Linked DNA regions of Homo sapiens: all the other regions are linked to region 1. The links are contacts of gene promoters, found by promoter capture Hi-C in blood cells and fetal thymus (Javierre and others, 2016). All regions are on one chromosome and are shown on one strand. Each heading gives the region's core, a stretch centred on a gene start or on the middle of the fragment in contact. The rest is flanking DNA. Distances are from core to core; before and after follow the strand shown.

Region 1 (3,549 bases), core at 310-2,809:
GAGTTCAAGGCTGCATTGAGCAATGATTGTACATACCACTGCACTCCAGCCTAGGTGACAGAGCAAGACCCTGTCCCAAAACAAACAAAAAACTGGTGAAATCTAAATAAGCTTTGTGGATTGCACCAGTGTCAATTTTCTGGCTGTGATATTATTGTATTATAGTTATGCAAAACGTCGCTACTGGGGAAAACTGGGTGCATACAACCTTCCTGCTCATCAACTGCAGAAGTGTTGGGGTGGTGGAGGTGGGAGTGAGGCCTTGGACTCCCTTCCTGAACTCTCCAGCCTCTGTGCATTGGTAAGAACACAGGGAGAAGCTGAGGCGGCTCAGAGAAGGTCTTACAGGGGATCCACAGTAGCAGAGGGGCTATAAATGGGTCTTCAGGACCCTCAAGGCAGGGCTCCCCCGCTGGGATCACCTCCCCTCTCTGGCCCTGGGGCAGGAGGAGGATGCAAATATGTGTGCCTGTTCCCCAGGGGCCACTATGTTCAGTAGCATAAAGCCCTTGGGGGGCTATATGGCAGAGTGTAGGACTTCATGCTTGAGGGGTCAGTGATGGGGACCACAAGGATGCTGGGCCTAGGAGGCTAGTCATTGCCCAGGGCAGTGGACTCAGAGGCAAGGAGTCCTGATGGGCCATGAATGGTGGAGAAGGCCTTGGAGGGGGGGGGTTTGAGGGCACAAGGCCTAGAGATGTCACCAGCCTACGGAAGCAGCATCCTTACGGGACCCAAACCAGCCCCATCCAGATCCAGAGCAAGTATGGGGGATGGGAGGAAGGGCTGGGCCTGGTGCCGGGCAGACTGGCTGCGGCACGCGATGGGGTGGGGGCTGTTTGTTGGGCCAGATTTAATGGGCTTTGCTGTCCCACCCTCAAAGCCTGCCTTCAGATGTGGTCTCCACGCTCCCCATAACCAGGGTCCCAACCCCAGGGGACGCTCAGCAGAGAGCTGGGCCTGACCCCAGCCCACAGCGGCCCTCTTGGCCCCTCCCTGCCCTAGGGTTCAGGTCGGGTGCTGCCCGCCACGCAGAAGCAGTCCGGGGACCCCTCCCAGAGGGGATCAGGGCTTAGGACTGAGAACTGGGTATCTGCTCAGGAAAGCCCTGAGTTTGGGTCAGTCAGTGCCCTATCCCTGCCTGGGGGCTCCCAGCCCAGTACCCTAGACCTGTTTCCACAACTGGACAGCTGGGTATCTATACAGCCGCACGGACTTCCCGCCACGCCGGCGAAACTGGGCACAGCCAGGGTTGATCCAGGATCACCAACAGACCCTGGGGGCACAGGGGGGTGCCAAGGCTGTTGACCCGCTGTGTGACCTCAGGGAGAACACTGTCCCTCTCTGGGATGGGTGTTCCAGGAGCTCTTGGGCTTAGGCCTCTGATATTTTCGGAATTCGGGCACCAGGGGACCGTGGGCAGTGCGTCCGCCCCAGGTCTGTCTGTCTGTCGAGGGGTGAATCAGCTTCCGGCCCCGCCCCGGGCGGCACGTGACCGCAGGTGGCGGCGGCGGGGTAAGCGGGGCGGCCCTGAGTCACCGGCGCGCCCCCGCCCAGCCTCGCGCCGCCGCCGCAGCCGCCGCGTGTGCGCCCCGCTCCGCCAGCGCCCGCTCGGTAAGCAAGTCCCGGCCGCGCCCCCCGGATCCCGGGTCTCGCGGGGCGTCGCCGCCCCGCAACCGCGTTTCTGGGTCTCCTGGACCCCTCCCAGAGCCCCAGCCTCCTCCGGGCAGGCCTCCTGGGTTGCCGGCACCCGGAAATTTTAAGACCCCTCCCTTACCCGGAAGCCCTCGGTTTGCGGGGCGCCTCTGTGCCGGGGCCGCCTCCCACTCTAAGAAGCTACTGGGAAGTTCCCCGGCTGCCCTAGTTTCCCTCAGAAGTTGCGAGGACTTCAGGCAGCTCCGGAAATCTGGGATATGGGTTCCCTGCACGTAGAGGCACGCTGAGCCCTGGGACGTGGCCCACCGCTCCCTCACCGCTGTTCCGATCCCTTACTTTCTTCCCATCCCAGTCCAGTGCCCCCACCTCATCTTCCCAGCCCCAGCCCCAGCCCCGTCCTTCCCACGCCCACCTGAGTTCCCGGCCCCGCCCCCGCCGCCCCTCCCCGCGCGGCCCGCCCTCCCCGCCGAGCCGGGCTCATCAGGTCTTTCCCGCAGATTGCTCATGGGCAGAGAAGCAGAGGCCGCGGAGAGGCCCCCGAGCGCGCGGTGCCCCAGCTGGGCCGGAGCTAGGAGCTGGACCTTGCCCACCCACCCCCGGCAGCAGTGCCCGGGCAGGCGGCGCCATGGCCTTCTCTCAGGTGCAGTGTCTGGACGACAACCATGTGAACTGGCGCTCCAGCGAGTCCAAGCCTGAGTTCTTCTACAGCGAGGAGCAGCGGCTGGCGCTGGAGGCCCTGGTGGCCCGCGGCCGGGACGCCTTCTACGAGGTGCTCAAGCGGGAGAACATCCGAGACTTCCTCTCGGAGCTGGAGCTCAAGCGCATCCTGGAGACCATCGAGGTGTACGACCCGGGCTCTGAGGACCCTCGGGGCACGGGCCCCTCTCAGGGGCCCGAGGACAATGGGGTCGGCGACGGCGAGGAAGCCAGCGGGGCGGATGGGGTCCCCATCGAGGCCGAGCCGCTGCCCTCCCTGGAGTACTGGCCCCAGAAGTCGGACCGCTCCATCCCGCAGCTGGACCTGGGCTGGCCCGACACCATCGCCTACCGCGGCGTGACCCGGGCTAGCGTCTACATGCAGCCCCCCATAGACGGGCAGGCCCACATCAAAGAGGTGGTGCGGAAGATGATCAGCCAGGCACAGAAGGTGAGGCAGCGCGGGGACTCCTGGAGCCATGGCCCAACCAGCCACCGGACCCCTCTCAATACAGGCTCACTCAGAGCCCAAAACGGGAGCCCAACATGGGCTTCTAGGGATCTCTGCTGTTTTCCCTGGCTGCCTCTTGGGTGGAGGTTTCCTCCCCACCTTCGTGGGGATCCGCAGTTTCTTTGCAGGGTAGGGTTCCCAGGTCCTAGCAGGTGACAGTGGGCTGCCCCGTCTCAAAGGGCCTCTTTATTGTTGGAGGGTGTTTCTGGTTCCCCAGAAGAAGGCACCGAGATAGGGTGGAGTGGGGAGGGGAGGAACCCCAGGGCTTCCTCTCACTCTCCCTTAGAGTGGCTCTGATTCACTGTAAAGGCGCGCACACACCATGAGCTCTCTGGTGGGGAGAGCTTTTGTTGTGGGGTGAGGGAATAGGCATGGTCCAAGTCCATCTGAGACTGGCCTGGAGGTCCTTGTTCAACACTGCCTGTTTCCTAGCTGTGCTGAGCAACTGGGAGCAGATTGCACACCCTCTCTGAGCCTCTTTGTGAGCTTTGCAATGGTGGAAACTTTCCAGGCCAGGATGCTTGGGTGAGGGAGGTGTGGTCCTCATCTGTGGAAGTGGAGTGAGTCCACCTGAGCATTGTCCACCTGAATTTTGCCACCGGAAGGGACCTCAAGCCTTCTCTGGCCCTCCCCTTCTCCACCCCTGTTGGGCTATGCAGTGCCCTAGCTGTGGGGGGCCATTCTTG
Region 2 (3,549 bases), core at 542-3,041, 150 kb after region 1:
GTGGCAGGCACCTGTAATCCCAGCTACTGAGGAGGCTGAGGCAGGAGAATCGCTTGAACCCAAGAGGCAGAGGTTGCAGTGAGCCAAGATCACACCATTGCACTCCAGCCTGGGCGACAAAAGTGAAACTCTTTCAGAGATTCAAAATAAATAAATAAATTAAAAATAAAATAAAATTACTTGTCCAAATCAGGCTGCCTGTAGCTACCCTGGCTGCCTTGCTAGCTGACTTTTACCTCCATTCATTTACTCAACAAATATCAATAAAGTACTTAACTCATGCCAGGCCCAGTGCTGAGGGTTGGGGCTACAGCTGGGAATGGCAAAGCACCCACCTCATACAGTGACCATAGTAGATGATCCACTGCATGCTAAGAGTTTAACAAAGTCCTGCTTTAGTATCCAATAAGCTATACTAGGTAGGTTAAATATTTATAATATATATGCTCTCTGGATATATAAGGAGTTTTGGGCCGGGCACGGTGGCTCATGCCTGTAATCCCAGCAGTTTGGGAGGCCGAGGAGGGTGGATCACCTCAGGTCAGGAGTTCGAGACCAGCCTGACCAACATGGAGAAACCTCGTCTCTACTAAAAATACAGAATTAGCCGGTCGTGGTGGCACATGCCTGTAATCCCAGCTACTCAGGAGGCTGAGGCAGGAGAATTGCTTGAACCCGGGAGGCGGAGGTTGTGGTGAGCCAAGATCACGCCATTGCACTCCAGCCTGGGCAACAAGAGTGAAACTTGGTCTGAAAAAGAAAAAAAAAAAAACAGAAGGAGTTTTGTAGACCCGGCACAGTGGCTTACGCCTATAATCCTAGCATTTTGGGAGGCTGAGGCAGGCAGATCACCTGAGGTCAGGAGTTCAAGACCACCCTGGCCAACATGGTGAAACCCTGTTTCTACTAAAAATACAAAAATTAGGCGGGCGTGGTGGTGCATGCCTATAATCTCAGCTACCCAGGAGGCCGAGGCAGGAGAATCACTGGAACCAGGGAGGCAGAGGCTGCAGTGAGCTAAGCTGAGATCCTGCCACTCCAGCCTGGGCAACAGAGCGAGACTCCGTCTAAAAATATATATATATATTAGCATTAGCATTACCATTTTAGCTGTACAACCTTAGAAGTCATTTCTCTCTGTTAGTTTCCTCATCTGTAAATGGGCTAATGCCACCTACTTCATGTCACTATTGAGGTGGATGGAGTAGAATAACATATTTATGGTAATGTCAATAAACCAAAGCCACAGCAAGGTTGGCACGGCCCACACACAGGCCCCCGTGGCAGCCTCCTCCTCCTGGTGGCAGCACCTAGCCAAGATCTGGGCTTTGAGCCCTTTGCCCACACCCTACTCTCAACAGCTTTCTCCTGGGCACTACTGGTGACACTGTGCTGGCTCACAGCAGCACCCCACCCACCAGGACTTTTTTTTCATTTCCATAATTGGAAAGTGCAGAATCAGGGACTGATGATCCCCCGGTAAATTACCCCCCAACTCAACTTTATCGGGTCTCTCCCTGCCAAAGACAGGCATCGCCAAGGCCTCTAGCCCGAATCATAACAAACACTCTCCAAACCTTGTATCTCTGGCTCAGCCTCTCTAAATCCCTCCCTTAAGCTGGAGGGAGGAGCACCCTAAGCCAAACTTCGGGCCCACTGATCTCCTCCCCTACCTACACTGCCCTGCCCCAGCTGGAGAGCCCCTATGCCACTGTCCTGCAAGCAGTTTTTCCTTCCCCCTTCACTGGAAGCACCTCCTAGGGAGGCCTAAGGACTGGGGCCTGGTGGTGCTGAGGCCTGCCTTGGTGGCTTTGCTTCCTGGGGCCTCCAGGGGGTAAGGCTGGTGTACCTCCTTCTGAAGCATTCAAATCTTGCATTTGCTTGAAATCTTAGTAAATGGAAGGCTTTCCCCATTCACATTCTATCATAAGTATTTGTATTAGTCAGGACTTTTGCAATAAAACTCAGCTTGAACCAGCTAAATGTAAAGGGAAAGGGGCTAACTGAGGAGGGGTGAGGCTGACTTCCACAGCTAAAAAGCCCAGGGGACAGCTTCGTATGGCTAGATCCAGTGCTCCACTATCTCCAGGGTTTTGTCTTTCTTTGGTGATTTTATTCTCAGGCAAGCTCTGCCCAGTAATGCCAACAGGGCCACCAGCACTTGGAGGCCCCTATGGCACTTCATTCTGTGAACTCAGTAAGAAAGAGGCCCTACCCCACCAGCGTCCTTTGCAATGTCCAGTGAAGGACTCTGATGTCATATGTACACACAGGTATCTCACACATACATGAAGACATCACTCACACTCAAATGTTCCCCATGTGGATGACACATACATTCACAAATCACACACACTCATACATCACACACACATCCAGCTGTCTCTCACACAGGTGTGACTCAATATTCACACATGGCTGGGCATGGTGGCTCATGCCTGTAATCCCAGCACTTTGGGAGGCTGAGTCAGGCAGATCTCTTGAGCTCACGAGTTCAAGACTAGCCTGGGCAACGTGGTGAAACCCCATCTCTACAAAAAATACAAAAAATTAGTCAGGCGTGGTGGCACACGCCTGTAGTTCCAGCTACTCATCTGCCCCTGATTCTGCACTTTCCAATTATGGAAATGAAAAACAAGTCCTGGCGGGTGGAGTGCTGCTGTGACTCAGCAAGTATCACCAGTAGTGCCCAGGAGGATGGCTCGGGAGGATGGCTTGAGCCTGAGAAGTGGAGCTTGCAGTGAGCTGAGATTGCACCACTGCACTCCAGCCTGGGCGGCAGAGCCAGACCTTGTCTCAAAAAAAATAAAAAAATAAATAAAAAATAAATAAATAAATAAATAAAAATCTCTCCCCCTTAGATGTTACAGACCTGCAAACGGCCACCCTCAGAGGCCTAACTCACCCAGATTTAGTTGATATGCCACTTTTTTAAGGAACACACCTACCTCTTACCTAACACATCGCTTCTTTTTTTGTTTTGTTTTGTTTTTTGAGACAGAGTCTCGCTCTGTCACCCAGGCTGGAGTGTAGTGGCGTAATCTTAGCTCACCGGAACCTCTACCTCCCGGGTTCAAGCTATTTCTCCTACCTCAGCCTCCCGAATAGCGGAGATTACAGGCATGCGCCACCACGCCCAGCTAATTTTATATTTTTAGTAGAGACAGAGTTTCTCCATGTTGGTCAGGCTGCTCTTGAACTCCCGACCTCAGATGATCCGCCCACTTCGGCCTCTCAAAATGCTGGGATTACAGGCATGAGCCACCACGCCCAGCATCACATTGCTTCTTACCTAGATGTAATTCTGTGACATATCACTCTAAGTCTGTGTGTAACAGATTGAAGCCCTCTCATTCTCCCAAAATAGTGTAGAGCCTTTGAAAGGATTAAATACATTCATTTTTTTTTAACTGCCTATATCGAAAGACACAGATTGGGAGAAAATATTCACACTACATATATCTGAAGACAAAGGACCTATATCCGATGACAAAGGACATATATCCAGATGATATAAGTAACTCATTTTTAATTTTTTTTTTTTTTTGA
Region 3 (3,549 bases), core at 369-2,868, 130 kb after region 1:
CTGTCTCAGCCTCCCGAGTAGCTGAGATCACAGGCATGCGCCACCATGCCCGGCTAATTTTGCATTTTTAGCAGAGAGAGCGTTTCTCCATGTTGGTCAGGCTGGTCTTGAACTCCCGACCTCAGGTGATCTGCACGCCTGGGGCCTCCCAAAGTGGTGGGATTACAGGCTTTTTTTTTTTTTTTTTGAGACAGAGTCTCACTCTATCACCCAGCCTGGAGTATAGTGGCGCCATCTTGGCTCACTGCACCCTCTGTCTCCTGGGTTCAAGCGATTCTCATGCCTCAGCCTCCCAAGTAGCTGGAATTAGAAGCGCATATCACCACGCCCAGCTAATTTTTGTATTTTCAGTAGAGACAGGGTTTCACCATGTTGGCCAGGCTGGTCTTGAACTCCTGATCTGCCCGCCTCGGCCTCCCAAAGCTCTGGGATTATAGGTGTAAGCCACCTCGCCCAGCCTTTTTTTTTTTTACTTCGAGATGGAGCCTTGTTCTTTTACCCAGGCTGGAATCCAGTGGCGTGATCTCAGCTCACTACAACCTCTGCCTCCTGCGTTCAAGCAATTCTCGTGCCTCAGCCACCTGAGTAGCTGGGACTACAGGCGCTCATGACCATGCCCAGCTAATTTTTTGTATTTTTAGTAAAGACAGGGTTTCACCGTGTTGGCCTGGCTGGTCTCAAACTCCTGGCCTCAACTGATATGCCCACCTCGACCTCCCAAAGTGCTAGGATTACAGGCATGAGCCACCACATCTGGCCCTCAACACTAAATGTTATTTCATGGTATTTCACAAAGAAGACCATGACGTCCAGACTCTGCAACATGGACAAGACTGAGAACCCGAGTTAACACAAGCTTATGTCAGGTATGGAACAATGCAAAATGAGACACGGAGAGAAAATGAAAGGGGTGCTGAGTGATTCTGATTAGAGGAATATGAAACTGACAAAAGACAGGGGCACAGGATAAGTATTGAAATGTACAAAAATAAACAACCAGAAGGACTTGAAAATGAGAAGGATCAGCAGTCACCCTTCTGAAGTCCTAAATTCTAAGTCCAGGGGTGCCCTCAATGCCTACCCATCCCCTTGGGTAATCCACACAACCTCTGTGCATTTATCCAATGGAATCACACTTGTCTGTAAGGACATAAAAGTACCACAGACACAGAAACCAAGGAGCCAGAAGCCGTTTAAGTTGTTCTGTGCCCGCCCCTTCCCTACCCCGATGCTGGAGGTAAAGGGTTAAGATGTGGGCACAGGTGAGTCCTCCACTTCCACCCTGGTTTGGTGGCAGACGTGGGAAAGGGGAAAGAGGACAGCAGCAGCAGGGGCAGTTGGCGCTCCGTGCCCCCACCTCCAGCTCTGCTGAGAATCCTGGGTGTCACAGCAGAAGGTGAAGCTAGGGCACCGTGGCAAAGGCCCTCCACACCCTTCCTCCTTCAGAGCACACCCGTTTGCCAGGGCTATAGGATGCAAGGACAGGTCTCCCCTGCCACTCCTCTTCCCAGGAGAGATGGGGGTTTTGTGACTTCATCCCAATAAACCAAAGACCAGGAGAGAAAATGTTCAAAATTTAGGTGAAAAAAATGTGTGTTCCAAGACTAAAGTCTCCCGAAATGGCCTTCTTTTTCCCTTTCGTTGGTTTTATATATGTATATACACAAATTAAGCATGCAGCAACTTTCAGACTCTCTAAGCTAAAAAATAATGCACTAGACAAACTGATTTCTAGACATTAAAAATTGTTCTGAGCGAAGAACTTCATACACAGAAGCATTTAGGGACATTTGTGGACAAACACACAATGGAAAGTGGGGCTTTAAGGCCAGGTGTGATAGGCTCACCTTCTATATTGCTGGAATCTCAGCAATATAGGAGGTCAAGGCAGGAGGATCACTTGAGGCCAAAAGTTTGAGACCAGCTGGGCAATACAGTGAGACCTCCATCTCTACAAAAAATGAAAAAACGAGGTGAGCATGCTGGTGCATGCCTGTAGTCCCAGCTACTTGGGAGGCTGAGGGAGGAGGATAGTTTGAGCCCAGGAGTTTGAAGTTGTAGTGAGTTATGATCTCACCACTGCACTCCAGACTGGACAACAGAGCAAGACTCTACCTCTTAGAAAAAAGAAAAAGAAAAAAAAAAAGTAGGGCTCCAGGTGATCACCCTCCCTTCCAGAGTGCCAGAGACAGCCTTGCTGCATTGAATCTTCTATACCTAGCTTAAACATATGTGACCAAACAATTTCCAGAACACAGGTGTGTCAAAGGTCACACCAGACAGGAATACACATTCCTTCAGTACAGTTTTTTATCCTCTCAGCTAATTTATGTAATAAAACAGTAAATAATGATCACTTTTATATGCAATAAAAGCTTAAAGAACCCCAACTAAGAAAGGTCTCCTCCCCTAGCCTCTGTTTCTTTTGGGGAGAGGAGGGAACTAGAAATGCTTCCTTGCAAGTTTTACAAAATTCTGGCTGTTAATTGTTAGGAAACTTAATGTATACTATTATCATTAACAGCCTCTACTCCAGGCTGGGCGCAGTGGCTCACGCCTGTAATCCCAGCACTTTGGGAGGCTGAGGCAGGTGGATCACCTGAGGTCGGGAGTTCAAGACCAGCCTGACCAACATGGAGAAACCCTGTCTCTACTAGAAACACAAAATTAACCGGGCGTGGTGACACATGCCTATAATCCCAGCTGCTCAGGAGGCTGAGGCAGAATTGCTTGAACCTGGGAAGCAGAGGTTGCGGTAAGCTGAGGTTGCGGTAAGCCGAGATCGCGTCATTGCACTCCAGCCTGGGCAACAAGAGTGAAATTCTGTCTCAAAAAAAAAAAAAAAAAAAGAGCCTCTACTCCAATACTTGGTTATTTCCACCCGTTAAGAACACTGAGTGGCTGGACACGGTGGCTCATACCTGTAATCCCACCACTTTGGTAGGCCGAGGCGGGCAGATTGCGTGAGGTCAGGAGTTCAAGACCAGTCTGGCCAACATGGTGAAACCCCGTCTCTACTAAAAATACAAAAATTAGCCAGGCGTGGTGGCGCCAACTGTAGTACCAGCTACTCGGGAGGCTGAGGCAAGAGAATCACTAGAACCTGGGAGGAGGTGGTTACAGTGAGCTGAGATTGCACCACTGCACTCCAGCCTGGGTGAAGGAGTGGGACTTTGTCTCAAAAAAAAAAAGAAAGAAAGAAGGAAAAACACTGAAAGAACATGTAAAAGTCAGCAGTTATGTCAGAAAACTTAGTTTTCTAAATTCTAAATTGGTAAGATATACTAATTTTAAGACTATTATAACTCTTCCTGGCTAGCCATCTATCATTATTTTAAACACTCATGCCTAAACTGAAACCCAGAAAGCAACACTTTTGCTGGATACTCACTTCGAAACAGTTTGGATGATGAAAACATCTTTTCCCCTCACAGACTCTTGAATTTGTACTCTTGTTTCTGGCAGGAAAAGGAAAAAGAAGAGAGGGAAAGGCATATAGTTCAAATTTTTCAAAATACACAAAAAAATCTGTATTATTCCCTAATGTAA

Evidence for each region. The method cuts DNA at HindIII sites, captures the fragments that hold promoters and counts their contacts. A CHiCAGO score of 5 or more calls a contact.
Region 2: a contact is called between a fragment that was not itself captured here and the fragment with the promoter of FAM83G in region 1, in 6 of 17 cell types (activated CD4 T cells, total CD4 T cells, non-activated CD4 T cells and 3 more). The highest score is 7.6, in activated CD4 T cells.
Region 3: a fragment that was not itself captured here is called in contact with the fragment with the promoter of FAM83G in region 1 in 2 of 17 cell types (naive CD4 T cells and total CD4 T cells); the score reaches 7.1 in naive CD4 T cells.

The regions. Positions count from the first base shown.
Region 1 is chr17:19,002,774-19,006,322 of GRCh38, reverse strand. FAM83G (family with sequence similarity 83 member G) reads left to right here and starts at 1,559. Exons shown (of 6, transcript NM_001039999.3): 1 at 1,559-1,614; 2 at 2,154-2,803. The coding sequence starts at 2,282. The region is part of intron 9 of SLC5A10 (solute carrier family 5 member 10); the gene reads right to left. RefSeq lists a silencer at 1,388-1,687. The HindIII fragment of the contact is 3,596 bases long and covers 114-3,549 here.
Region 2 is chr17:18,849,140-18,852,688 of GRCh38, reverse strand. No RefSeq gene overlaps it. Among named protein-coding and RNA genes, the nearest start is that of PRPSAP2, 7.2 kb to the left of the region's middle. RefSeq lists an enhancer at 2,483-2,542. The HindIII fragment of the contact is 4,259 bases long and covers 1-3,549 here.
Region 3 is chr17:18,872,492-18,876,040 of GRCh38, reverse strand. It overlaps PRPSAP2 (phosphoribosyl pyrophosphate synthetase associated protein 2), which reads right to left. Exons shown (of 12, transcript NM_002767.4): 5 at 3,392-3,458. Among named protein-coding and RNA genes, the nearest start is that of PRPSAP2, 16 kb to the right of the region's middle. The HindIII fragment of the contact is 1,519 bases long and covers 859-2,377 here.